Linked DNA regions of Homo sapiens: all the other regions are linked to region 1. The links are contacts of gene promoters, found by promoter capture Hi-C in blood cells and fetal thymus (Javierre and others, 2016). All regions are on one chromosome and are shown on one strand. Each heading gives the region's core, a stretch centred on a gene start or on the middle of the fragment in contact. The rest is flanking DNA. Distances are from core to core; before and after follow the strand shown.

The links. The method cuts DNA at HindIII sites, captures the fragments that hold promoters and counts their contacts. A CHiCAGO score of 5 or more calls a contact.
Region 2: a contact is called between a fragment that was not itself captured here and the fragment with the promoter of DLGAP1-AS1 in region 1, in 1 of 17 cell types (total B cells). The highest score is 5.8, in total B cells.
Region 3: a contact is called between a fragment that was not itself captured here and the fragment with the promoter of DLGAP1-AS1 in region 1, in 1 of 17 cell types (total B cells). The highest score is 5.8, in total B cells.

What each region holds. Positions count from the first base shown.
Region 1 is chr18:3,590,833-3,595,363 of GRCh38, reverse strand. DLGAP1-AS1 (DLGAP1 antisense RNA 1) reads right to left here and starts at 1,250. Exons shown (of 3, transcript NR_024101.1): 1 at 1,124-1,250; 2 at 880-944. The region is part of intron 7 of DLGAP1 (DLG associated protein 1); the gene reads left to right. RefSeq lists enhancers at 1-78, 1,491-1,610 and a silencer at 199-493. The HindIII fragment of the contact is 5,788 bases long and covers 353-4,531 here.
Region 2 is chr18:2,986,624-2,990,681 of GRCh38, reverse strand. The region is part of intron 1 of LPIN2 (lipin 2); the gene reads left to right. It also overlaps the pseudogene SNRPCP4. Among named protein-coding and RNA genes, the nearest start is that of LPIN2-AS2, 22 kb to the right of the region's middle. The HindIII fragment of the contact is 876 bases long and covers 1,330-2,205 here.
Region 3 is chr18:2,637,024-2,641,049 of GRCh38, reverse strand. No RefSeq gene overlaps it. Among named protein-coding and RNA genes, the nearest start is that of SMCHD1, 17 kb to the left of the region's middle. RefSeq lists an enhancer at 3,715-3,764. The HindIII fragment of the contact is 5,288 bases long and covers 1-3,954 here.

The sequences.
Region 1 (4,531 bases), core at 1-2,500:
AGAAGTTTTAGACCTCAGCCTCTGGCCCTGGGCCTTCTGAAATGACCTTCCTCCAAACACCATTTAATTTCCGCTAACTTAGTTAATGAATGGAACTTTCTGAAGACAGCAGTTACTTTGATCTGAACCCCTTTCCTAGTTTCCAGTTAACATAGCCAGAGGGAGACAGAAGGGGTGCCCGCCTCTCAATGGGTGCCCTCTCCTCCTGCGTGGCTGGAGCAGCTCCCAGCTGTAGCTATTCCTCTAACGCAGAGAGAGCTGCAGAAAGCAGTTCCCAAAAGGAAGAAGGCAAGTTACAAATACCGCCGTTGGCATTTTCGTGGGTGTTTCCCGCCACATAGAGATAAAAGCTTTGAGGTGGGGCTTTGAGGCACACTCTCTGGGTAGCTGGGCCTGCAGTCTGGAAATCCTAAGTAATCCTTGCAAATAGGCTAACTGGAAGCCAGCAATACAAATGAGCAGTGCTTCTGGCCTGAGAGAAAGGTGTCTGCATTCAAAGTACAACTTCAGATAAAAATGGAAAATGCCAGTCCCACCCTGCAGGAATCCTGTTTCTGGGCTGTTTATCCTCACTGCCATCCACCCTACCCTTGGCTGTGACTAGGATGTGAAGAAAGAGATTGGGTGGAAAAGGCTACCGCAGCTCTTGCTCCGTTTAACTCACCACCTTAAAAAACATGGCCTTGGCTGCTGCTTTAAAACAACAACAACGAAAATCCCCAGCCCCAACCCAGAGGTTTAACCCTGCAGCTAAGGTGAAGTTTTTGTTAAGGTGATAAGGTAAAAAAGGACGCCATTCTGAGCCTTGACTTCCACTCTTCATACTTTTCGGAAGACAAGTCCAGCAAAGACCTCCACCCCTTCCAAAGAGCGACTTACCTCGTAGCTGATCCACAGATTGCAACGTACAGATGTGATGTTCCAGGCTTGGCCACAAGGGGACACTAGAGAGTAGGACTGCCCGCGTCAATGTTTTGTTTTTTACAGACTTTTGGTTGGGAGGGAGGGAGGGAGGGAGGGGGGTGTGGGAGTGGTGGGGGAGATGCTGGCTTTAAAAAAAAGTCCATTTGTTCCCTGAGATTGTGCCACTTGCCCTTTTATAAGTCAAAGGTTGCCACGTTACCTGTTGCCAGGTTCCTGAGAGTGCTTGGGGAAAATGTGGGCGAGAGAGGCACAGCACAGTCCTCCGGCTTGGTAGGTTTCAAGCTCTTTTGACTGGGCTGGCGCTGACATTTGCAGGGGCAGCTGCTGTGGATTGCCTGCGCATTGTTTGGCTGTAGTTCTAACAGAGGAGTGGCTGCGTCTGACATCATTTCCAGGCATCAAGTGCCTGGGGCTTTTTTTTTTTTTTTTCTTTAATGACGAACTCTCTGACCCCTCCCTGCCTGGATTTTTGTACAGTACATGCACTGTGCAAAACAGCCTCCACTCAGGAAGCCCAAGTTTTGTAGCAGCTTGTTGAAACAACTTGGGTGCCTTTTAAAAAAAATAAAGTTGTGACTCTGAAACAAACCTTTCCATTCTTCCTCCTTGCTGAGAACAATGTTGCGTTTGATTAGCAGCGCAGCCAGTGCTTTCTGAAAGATCTGCTCTCCCCAGAAGAGGCGGCTGCTATCAGTTGAATAGATCTCTAGGCCAGACATGCCGAGGCTTGGGGCATTTGTCTGGCGTTAGGAAGTGTCTGGAATACTAGCAACTACCAACTGGCGTGTCTTATGACTACAGGAATTATTACACTACCCTCCATTTCATTCACATCCCCTCTCCTCCCCTTACACACACACACAAGCATATTTTTTTCTACTTTAGAAAAAGTTGAGCGAGTCATCTTGTGGTTTCCGTGGAGGATGTAACTGGGAGAGAAGACTGTGGGATACCTTGTATCTCCCAGAGGGGGGCCGGGAATCATGGTGTATGACCCACCCCAACAGCCTCTGATCTCTGCCTTCTCACCACTGACCGCCACGCTTTGGGTGGCCTTAAATGTGAAGCTGTAAATATTTTGAAATAAGGTAGTGATTTTTCCATGTGCATTTTGTTTTGTGGCATTTCTCTCCTTCTGCAATATTTTAAAAGTTGCAACTGTGCACCCCTTGTTGACCACTCCAAATTCATTCATTCACTGAAACTTAAGAGTTCCTGCAGAGTGAGGATGGCTGTGCACGAAGGAGTCCCTCGTGGAAACCACGGTGCTTTAGTGGACAAGGTGTTTACTAGAGAGTGTTTACTGGCGGGGGGCGGGGGAGATAAACAAAGGTGGTTTGAGTTAATGGTCAGATGGGAGTTGGAGCCCTGAGTACTCTAACTCTGTCACTGAATCTCTAGATGAGTTAGGGATGTCCGTTGCCTGCTCTGAGCCTTAATATTTTCATCAGTTAAATGGGGATAGTGGGATCTTTCACATATGTGAGATCATGTCTATTTTCTTCTTTTTCTTTTCTTTTCTTTCTTTTTTTTCTTTTTCTTTTTCTTTTTCTTTTTCTTTCTTTCTTTTTCTTTTTTTTTTTTTTTTTTTTTTTTGAGGCAGGGTCTTGCTCTGTCACCTAGGCTGGAGTGCAGTGGCACAGTCATGGCTCATTGCGGCCTCCACCTCCCAAGCTCAAGTGATCCTCCCACCTCAGCCTACCGAGTAGCTGAGACTTCAGGCGTGCACCACCATGACCAGCTAGTTGTTGTTGTTTGGGTTTTTTTGAGACGAGGTCTCACTCTGTTGCCCAGGCTGGTCTCCAACACCTGGGCTAAAGCGATCCTTATGCTTCAGCCTCCCAAAGTGCTGGGATTACAGGTGTGAGCCACCACACCCAGCCCCCATGTCTATTAAGTTCTTAGCACAGTGTCCAGTACACAGAGTAAGGATTTGCTCTCTGGTGATTAGGAAGATCTAATGGCATGTCACGGGTCTGGACTGAATCTCATCTCATCATCTTTGTTGTTGCCAGGGTTTGCGCATTTTTGCCGGTGGAGGACTCCAGCCAGACCGCTGATTTGTCTGGCATTTGTTGGAAAGTCCGGCCAGCATAACACATCACCGCAAGGAGCAGGAGCCCTATGATGCACTGTTAAGTGCACAACTATGGGGTCTGCTTGGCTGGAAGCAGCAGCAGCAAACTTGTCTATTAGTTATTTTGTCCTCATCAGTGCCAGCTGCTTTCCCAAGATGGCAGAACATTCATCATTGCTACCAGACAGCCTCGTTGGAGCTCTTTCTCTGGCCTCCTTTTTTGGCTTCTTTCTTCAGCTCTTCAGCATCATTCTCTGTGGGACCCTCCCTAGTTTGCAAATTCTTGTCTAAATTTCACTCATTATCATAACCATCCAATTTGAAAGAAACCTTGTCATCTAGTTGAGCCCCCTATCAGATGTTGGTACAATTGCTATAGCCTCCCAGCCAAAAGATGTGCTGGTCTGTGCTTGAACAGGTCCAGGGGCTGAGAACTCCCTCTGTTATGAGGTCCTCATATTCCTTCTATGGACGGACAATCAATGCCTGGAGAATTATTCTTTATGCCTCTCTGAGCCCTTGCCTTTGTTGTTCCTTTGGGGACTTATACAAAACAGGCCCATGCTATCCTCTAAGCAAGAGCCCTCCAAATAATTGAAAACCCCCCTTTCTTCTTTTCCAAATGAAACACCCCGTCTTTTTATTTTTATTTTTTGTTTTTTATTTTTGACGTAGTCTTGCTCTGTCGCCAGGCTGGAGTGGTGTGATCTTGGCTCACTGCAACCTCAATCTTTTGGGCTTCAGCAATCCTCCCGCCCCAGCCTTCCAAGTAGCTGGGACTACAGGTGCCACCTACTTGGAAGGCTGGGGCAGGATTCTACCACTCCTGGATAATTTTGTGGAGATGGGTTTCACCATGTTGCTCTAGCTGGTCTCAGACTCCTGAGCTCAAAGAGATCCTCCCACCTGGACCTCTCAAAGTGCTGGGATTACAGGAATGAGCCACCGCAACAGGCCTAGGTCCATACTTCTAATCCTACATGCCTTTCCTGAAATAGACACCTTACCTGACATTACAACCATAAGTCCAATCGTTCCCATTCTGTATTTCTACAATAGAAATACATTTATGTCCCCAGTTTAGGTCCTTCCAAGTTTCTTTTTTTTCTTTTGGCCTCTTCACATCATTTTGTTTTCTAAAATAGCCTGTGGCTTCAAGTTACCTCTTGAATATATTCTTAATCTCACTTGTACTACCTCTGCCCTGTTCCCTGGATTTGCAAATGTTCTTTTCAGTGCTTCTCAGCCTATCTCTGGTAAGGGACCAGTTTGTTTGTTTGCCCTCAATCTGCTGCAGATTAGTGCTTTGGTAAAATGCAACAAAAAAGAATTACTAGAAAGAGGACTTTTTTTTTAAGACATACAAAAAACAAACCCATAATTTTTGTTTTGTTTTGTTTTGTTTTTAGATTCAACAGGTAAAACACTCTATAAAATTGCTATAAAAGTTTCTAAACACTTACATTCAATTTTCTTTGTTTTTTTTTTTAGACGGGGTTTCATTCTTGTTGCCCAGGCTGGAGTGCAATG
Region 2 (4,058 bases), core at 518-3,017, 610 kb after region 1:
GTCATGGATGAGGTGTGTGTTGCAGTAGTCACGGCCATTGGCCACTCTCTTCCTTTTTAACAGAAACTATAGCCATCGTAGTGGGTATGAATTGGTATCTCATTGTGGTTTTGATTTGCCTTTCCCGGATGGTTAATGATGTTGAGCATCTTTTCAAGTATTTATTTGCCATTTTGTATATCTTCTTTGAAGAAGGGTTTATCTAGATCCTTTGCCCATATTTTAATTGAATCATTTGTCTTTTAGTTGTTGTAGGAATTTTTAAATATATTCTAGAGTTAAACTCCCCAATTTGCAAATATTTTCTTACATTCTGTATGATTCTTTTTCTTGATCATGTCCTTTGATACAAAAAAAAGTACTTTTAGTGAAATCCAATTTATCTAGTTTTTGTTACTCATGCTTTTGGTGTTATATCTGAGAATCATTTGCCAAATCCAAGATCATGAAGATTTACCCTATGTTTTCTTCTAAGAGTTTTATGGTTTTAGGTCATTAATCCATTTTGAGTTAATTTTTTAATATGGTGTAAAGTAGGGTTCCAACTTCATTCTTTTGCATATAGAAACTTAGTTGTGTCAGCACCATCCGTTGAGACTATTCCTTCCGCCATGCAGTGGATTTGGTACTCTTGTCAAATATCAATTGGCCATAAATGTTTGGGTTTATTTCTGGACTCTCAAGTCTATTCCATTGGTCTGTATGTCTGTTTTATGCCAGTACTACAATGTTTTGATTACTGTAATTTTTTTTTTTTTTTTTGAGACAGAGTCTCACTCTGTCACCCAGGCTGGAGTGCAGTGGTGCAATCTCAGCTCACTGCAGCTTCCACCTCCTGGGTTCAAGTGATTCTCCTGCCTCAGCCTCCCGAGTGGCTGGGACCACAGGAGCCTGCCACACACCTGCCTAATTTCTGTATTTTTTGTAGAGGCGGGGTTTCACTGTGTTGGCCAAGCTGGTCTCGAACTCCTGACCTCAAGTGTTCTGCCCGCATTGGCCTCCCAAAGTGATGGGATTACAGGCGTCAGCTACTGCACCCAGCCTGATTACTGTAACTTTGAAAGTTTTGAAATCAAGAAATGGAAGTCTTCCAACTTAGCTCTTTTTCAGTATTATTTTGGCTAGTCAGGGCCCCTTGTAACTCCATATGAATTTGAGGCTTTTGGAATTTTGATAGGGATTGCCTTGAATTTGAAGATCGCTTTAGGTAATATTGGCATCTTAACAATATTGAGTCTTCCTATTCACGAACACGGATGTCTTTCTATTTACTGAGGTTATCTTTAATTTTTTTTTTCAGTGATTTTTGCAATTTTATTTGTACAAGCTTTCACCTCCTTGGTTAAATTTATTCCTAGGCATTTTTTTTCTTTTAGATGCATTGCATAATGTTTGAGATTTTAGAAATACTTAGCATAGTAAATCTGAATTTCAGCTTAAATAATGAGTCTAAGAAGGTACTGTGGAAGACATCTTGAGCTCTAGCTGGTTTGTCCTTGGATATTTAACATAACCTCTCTCTAAACCTCCATTTCTTCATCTGTAAAATATAGGGATAAAGCAAATCTGTCTTTCATGAGAATTGTGTAGATCAGAGATAATATATGCAAAGGATTAATTCCAGGGTATGGCTTAGAGTAAATACTAAATAAATAGTGCTTGGCTGCCAGGATTGTGTTTTCTTCTATGATTTCAATATAAATACCTATGTTGTACTTGAAGTATACTTTTTCAAATTGAATACAATTAATTTGTTGCAAAGGCTGAAGATTTTTACACAAACTAAATGCCCTGTTCCTGAGAGAGCTTTTTTATATTAAAGTATGTTGAGTCTGGAAGAAAAATAAAATGAAATGTCACACTTGTTCTGTTTCAATGGTGCTTTATCCTTAGAAGAGGGAGCATTTCTTCTCATGTTGCAACTTTCAGATGCCTCTTTGCTTTTTGAATCCTATCTGTGTCTTGACATTACAAGGTTAAATCTTAGACATTACCAGCATTTAACTTGAAAGAGTAGCAAAGCTGACTAACTTTTCCCCTTTTCTTTTACTACTTAGTGCATTGAGGCTTTACCCTCACTGGAGATTGCAATTACCGTCACCATCTGGAATTGGATTCATCTGTATGTGTAGAATATAACTTACATATAAAGCTGAGTATCAGTGTTTCAGGTTTTCTCTTTTTCTTACACATCTCAGTCAAGCTTTAGATTGAAGTAGGCAGATTCACTGAGTGTAATAATTTAAGAATTCAGTTACTTTCATTTTAATTTAAATTTCACCAATTAAATAAAATTCTTCATAACACTTAAGTATAGCATTAGAATTTCTAAACATTGTGAAACTAAATTCTTTATTCTCATAGCAAAGTATATTAGTCATTTTTGCCGTTTCTCCTGAAGAGCATAAATGAGCCTGCATTCAAGAATATGGAATGTTGTACATTCTGATGGGGAAATAGAGTGGCAGAATATAGTCAGGTTGAGGAGCATGGAAGTTTGAAAAAGAACCAGAAATTTGGAGAGAGAGCTGACCACAGAAACAAAGGAGGGTTGCCAGATTCTGTTGGGGACCCATTTAAGGCTACAGATAAGTAATTTATACTGTTACCCATCTGGCCTGCTGGCAGCACTCATGATGATTCTTTTTTTTTTTTTTTTTTTTTTTTTTGAGACAGTCTCTCACTCTGTCGCCCAGGCTGGAGAACAGTGGTATGATCTTGGCTCACTGCAACCTCCGCCTCAGCCTCCTGAGTAGCTGGGATTACAGGCGTGAGCCACCACACTCAGCTAATTCTTGTATTTTTAGTAGAGATGAGGTTTCACTGTGTTGGCCAGGCTGGTCTTGAACTCCTGACCTCAAGTGATCCACCCTCCTGGATTCTAAGTACACTTAAAATTACAGCAGCCGTTCGTTTCTATAGATGGAAGAAGGTGGCAGGAAGAAGAGTAATTACTAAGAGTAATTTACTAAGTAAAGCTGATTACAAATATCTTTTAAATAAAAAATTTTTAAGTAATTGAAAGAGATCACAGCAACAGAATAATTTAAACAACCATCACCAGTTTTTCAGGTGGTCGAGAAAATCTTGAATTAGAACTGTTGTGAGGAACCAGCTATGGAAGAGAAAATTGGAGTCAAAGATGGACCTGAAATGTCCACGTGGAAAAAAATAAGTCAAGGAATGTGAGGATGAGGGGTTCCTACATGATGCCGATACATTTTGTGATAATTTTCACTTATATTTTCTTTGGATTGTCTTAATGATATAATCAACTCTTGCTCACCTTATTTGTTGTTTGTTGCTGTTTTTGGGGGACAAGCTTTAAGCTATCTCACTTTTTGATCTGGAGTATAGGAACCCAGCACTGGCTTCTTCCAGCACCTTCACTTGGCCTCAGTGTTGTGATGCACTGAGCCACCCCTGTTATTGTGAGTCTATAACAAGTAATTTGTTTCTGAAAAGATTAAAGCACTACACTTTGAAAATTATTTAGTGTTTTAAAATTTGATGATAGTAAGACTTGCATTTCAACAGGATTTTTTGAGTTTGAATGAAATGGGGGTGATATAACCCCAGAACAGAAAATCGTATACCTAAGGGTGTCATCACTGTGCAAACTGCTATTCAGAGGTGAAATGGGAGAAGAAAAAGACATTTAAACAGAAACAATTAGGCAATTAACAGGCCCCCTCTTCACCCCCGACCTCCACCCCTGTCAAGCAACTGAGGCCTCAGGAGTCCTGCCTGAGCAGAACAGAGGGTTTTCCATTTCTTTTGGCTTTATTTTGTTGAAAATGTTGTCCAAAAGTTGTGACACAAGTCAGGCCATAATTACTCTGATCCTAAATTAGGCTGTTCAGCTTTACTCTCTTAATGTTCAGATGCACTTGACTGCTACAGCCAGGCAACTCTCAGTATTGTCTCTCTTGTCTCCAAATAGTGGGTAAAAGCTTGACCTCAAACATTTGTGTTGGAAGGGTTAGACCGCAGAGGTTGTTTGGTCCTAAGCTCCTTAAACTGCGATGTGTACACTGAGCATCCTCTAATTCTTACAG
Region 3 (4,026 bases), core at 61-2,560, 950 kb after region 1:
CGCATTTAGAAGAGGAAAGAGATTCTCATAATGAAAATAATAAGTATATAAGGTAATGCATATGGTAATTAGCTTGATTTACCCACTCCAGTAGGGTATGTATATATATTTTGAAACATCCTGTTGTACACAGTAAATATATACAATTTTTATTTGTCAGTTTAAAAATATGTATTATTTTAAAAAGCCTAATTCTACTCTGAAAATTAAAAACAGAAGAAAAAGAGACCAGGAAAGAGAAACTTAACTTGCTGTCAGTATAAGGGTGTCAGACTTCTTTCTGATGAAGCCAGAAAGAGTGGCTCAGCAAATTGAAAACACAAGTATTCAAATGGAAAGAAAGACAAAATTATCAGGGCACTAAATTTATATCAGCCTGTTGAAGGTGAGGAAAAAAGCCACTTACTCATACAGGTATCATATATGCAAAAATCATTCATGTTGGCCAGGCATGGTGGCTCACAACTGTAAACCCAGCACTTTGGAAGGCTAAAATGGGTGGATCACTTGAGCCTAGGAGTTCAAGACCAGCCTGGGCAACATGGCAAAACCCCTTCTCTATAACCCAGTACAAACGTTAGCCAGGTATGGTGGCACACACCTGTAGTCTCAGCTACTGAGATGACAGGATCGCTTGAGCCCAGGAGGTCGAGGCTGCAGTGAGCCATGATTGTGCCACCGCACTCCAGCCTAAGTGACAGAGTGAGACCCTGTCTCCAAAAAATTAAAAAAAAAAAAAGAAAAAGATCATTCATATCAGCATAGCAAAAGTCAGGGACAGCATTATTTAGAGAATCCAGGCTCACTGCAAATTTTTTAGAGTTTATTATTTTGGAGACCAGAACCAGTCAGGATGACCCTATTCTTTTAAGTTTTTCTTGAGAATGTGAAGTGGTTTGATTTTGTTCCTATCTATAGTATGTGATGTGCTTAATCATACTGGAAGCAGAACAAAGCGTGAGTTTTGCTTCTATAGGAGATTAGCAATGGCATAAGGCATATGGAGGGAAGGAAAAGAGAGAGGGAAGGAGGGACTGACCATACAGAGACATAGAGTAGGGTGTGCATGGCACGCATGTGTGACAAAGAGCAAGTATAAATTATTATTGGGGCTCCTGTGTGTCTGTGTCATCACTCAGGTGTCCAGGCCTCATTAGGCCACACAGCAGACTGATCAGCAATTCCCAACCTTTCATTTGGGTTCCACATGAAATACTGATGAGGAGTCTTTGTAGAACTTGGAGAAGGTAGAACTGAAACTCAAGGGAGATCCTACTAAAATGGTTACAGGAGGTATTGTCTAGTTCAAAGAAGGTCACTTTCGTAAGGATTTAACGGTAGTCCAAGATGAAAACCTCAGGCTTCATCTGTTGTCAAATAATACATAAGGTATTTCTAGGCTTCTCCAGAGAGAAAGAGTCAAAGTCTGCAGGAAATCGCTAGCTCCTGCAATATCAATCAAATTAAAACTATACAATTGGCAATAGATGGGGAATTTACACATGTTACACATGGGCTCTGTAGAATAGCTAGACTTTGAAGCCCCGATCTTCCCTTTGGGGTCCCTTTCTATTGCTATCACTGCCAGCTCCTTTTTGGTAAATCCTATTACTTTTTTTTTTGTGGTTGGGAGAGGATCTCACTCTGTCGCCCAGGCTGGAGTATAGCGGTGCAATCACAGCTCACTGCAGCCTCCACCTCCCTGAGCTCAGGAGATTCTCTCACCTCAGCCTCCCTAGTAGCCGGAACTACAGGTGCCCACCACTATGCCTGGCTAATTTTTGTATTTTTTGTAGAGACAGGATTTTGCCATGTTGCCCAGGCTAATCTCGAACTCCTGACCTCAGGTCAGGAGGCCGATGCATTTGCCTCGGCTTCCCAAAGTGCTGGGATTACAGGACTGAGCCACCACGCCCGGCCACTATCACCTTTTATGAACATACGTCCCCACCTTAATTCCTGGCAGCATAGTAGAGACTTTGCTGGTGTTCAGACTATAGTATGTGTAAGAATAACCTGTACTGTGTGTTTAAAATACAAATTCCTAGGTTCCACACCCAGATATTAATATTTTGAATCAGTCAAATATGAGACTGAGAATGTATATTTTTAACAACTTTCATGTGGTTCTGACAGAGATAGTTCAAACACCACATTTTGAGAAACACTGAACCAAATGGGACAAAAAAGGTGATGGATATAGAAAAGAATATATTGAAGCCAATCTGAAAAGGCTACATACTGAATGATGTCAAGTATATGACATTTCTGGAAAAGGCAAAACTATGGAGACAGGAAAATGATCAGTGGTTGCCCAAGGGCTGCGAAGAGGAGGGATGGGCAGGCAAAACACAGAGGATTTTTAGGGCAGTTAAATTATTCTGTCTGATACCATAGTGGTGAATACATGTCACTTATACATTTGTCCAAACCCAAAGAATGTGCAACATGAAGAGTGAACCCTTATGTAAACTACGGACATTCCGTGGTTATGATGTATCTGCATAGATTCCCTCATTGTAACACATGCTGCTCTCTGGTGGGCAATGTTGAAAACCAGGGAGCTGGCATGTGTGGGGGCAGGAGGTACCTTTCTTTCCATTTTGCTGTGAACCTAAAACTGTTCTAAAAACATAGTCTCTCGCTCTCTGTTTTTTTTTTTTTAGACGGAGTCTCGCTCTGTCGCCCAGGCTGGAGTGCAGTGGCTCCATCTCGGCTCACTGCAAGCTCCGCCTCCCGGGTTCACGCCATTCTCCTGCCTCAGCCTCCGGAGTAGCTGGGACTACAGGCGCCCGCCACCACGCCCGGCTAATTTTTGTATTTTTAGTAGAGACGGGGTTTCACCGTGTTAGCCAGGATGGTCTTTATCTCCTGACCTCGTGATCCACCTGCCTCGGCCTCCCAAAGTGCTGGGATTACAGGTGTGAGCCACCACGCCCGGGCTAAATTTCTGTTTCTTATCTAAGTTTCACTTTCTTTAGAGAGAAATAATCTCTTCTCTAAAACTATATTACTCATCCTCCCCTTACAAGGCAATTGGCCGGTTCTAGAGTTAGAATGCAGCATCCCCACACAAGATACACAGATCCTATAGCACACAGGTCATTAGCCATCCATAACCATATCAATTATGAAAAATAAGGACACTTTTTGTCACATTCCTCAAAATGTGTATTTTTCAGTTCTAAATATCCCTATTAATAGTTAATTTAAGTCCGGGCACGATGGCTCACGCCTGTAATCTCAGCACTTCGGGAGGCTGAGGCGGGCAGATCACTTGAGGTCAGGAGTTTGAGACCAGTCTGGCCAACATGGCGAAACCCTGTCTCAACTAAAAATACAAAAATTAGGTGGGCGTGGTGGCACGCACCCGTAATGCCAGCTACTCGGGAGGCTGAGGCAGGAGAATCACTTGAACTGGGGAAGTGGAGGTTGCAGTGAGCTGAGATTGTGCCATTGCACTCCAGCCTGGGCGACAGAGGGAGACTCCTGGCAAAAAAAAAAAAAAAAAAAAAGGTTAATTCAAGCTGACACTTGCCAAGCCTGGGTCAGTTCCTCCTCACAGAATGTACTCTGGCTTGACGTGAATCTGACTTCTATAATTGCCCCCTGCTGTCCTGTGGTACATAACTCTTGATACTTCTGAGATGTGATTTAGAAAATGAATACTTCTCCAAAGGAAACAATAAATTTGCAGAGATAAAACTGCCTAAATCATGCTGAATATGTTGCACAAGGAGAACCAAGCCCTCCCCATTCCCAATCATATGTATAGGAAATGTAGACTTTTTCAAGGCAGTCAGCAGGAACAAAATATGCGCAAAGACTCTGTTTTCATGTTTTTGTACTTTAGTTTTGTATTAGATATTTCCTGCTTCTACAGCTGTTGGGTGTGTCCCTCCTCCTGTTCCGGTGATGTAAACCTAAAAAAAAAAAAAAAAAAAAAAGAAAGCTTCTCAAAAAAGAATAAAGAAGTAAACACACACACACACACACACACACACACACACACACAAACACTGAACA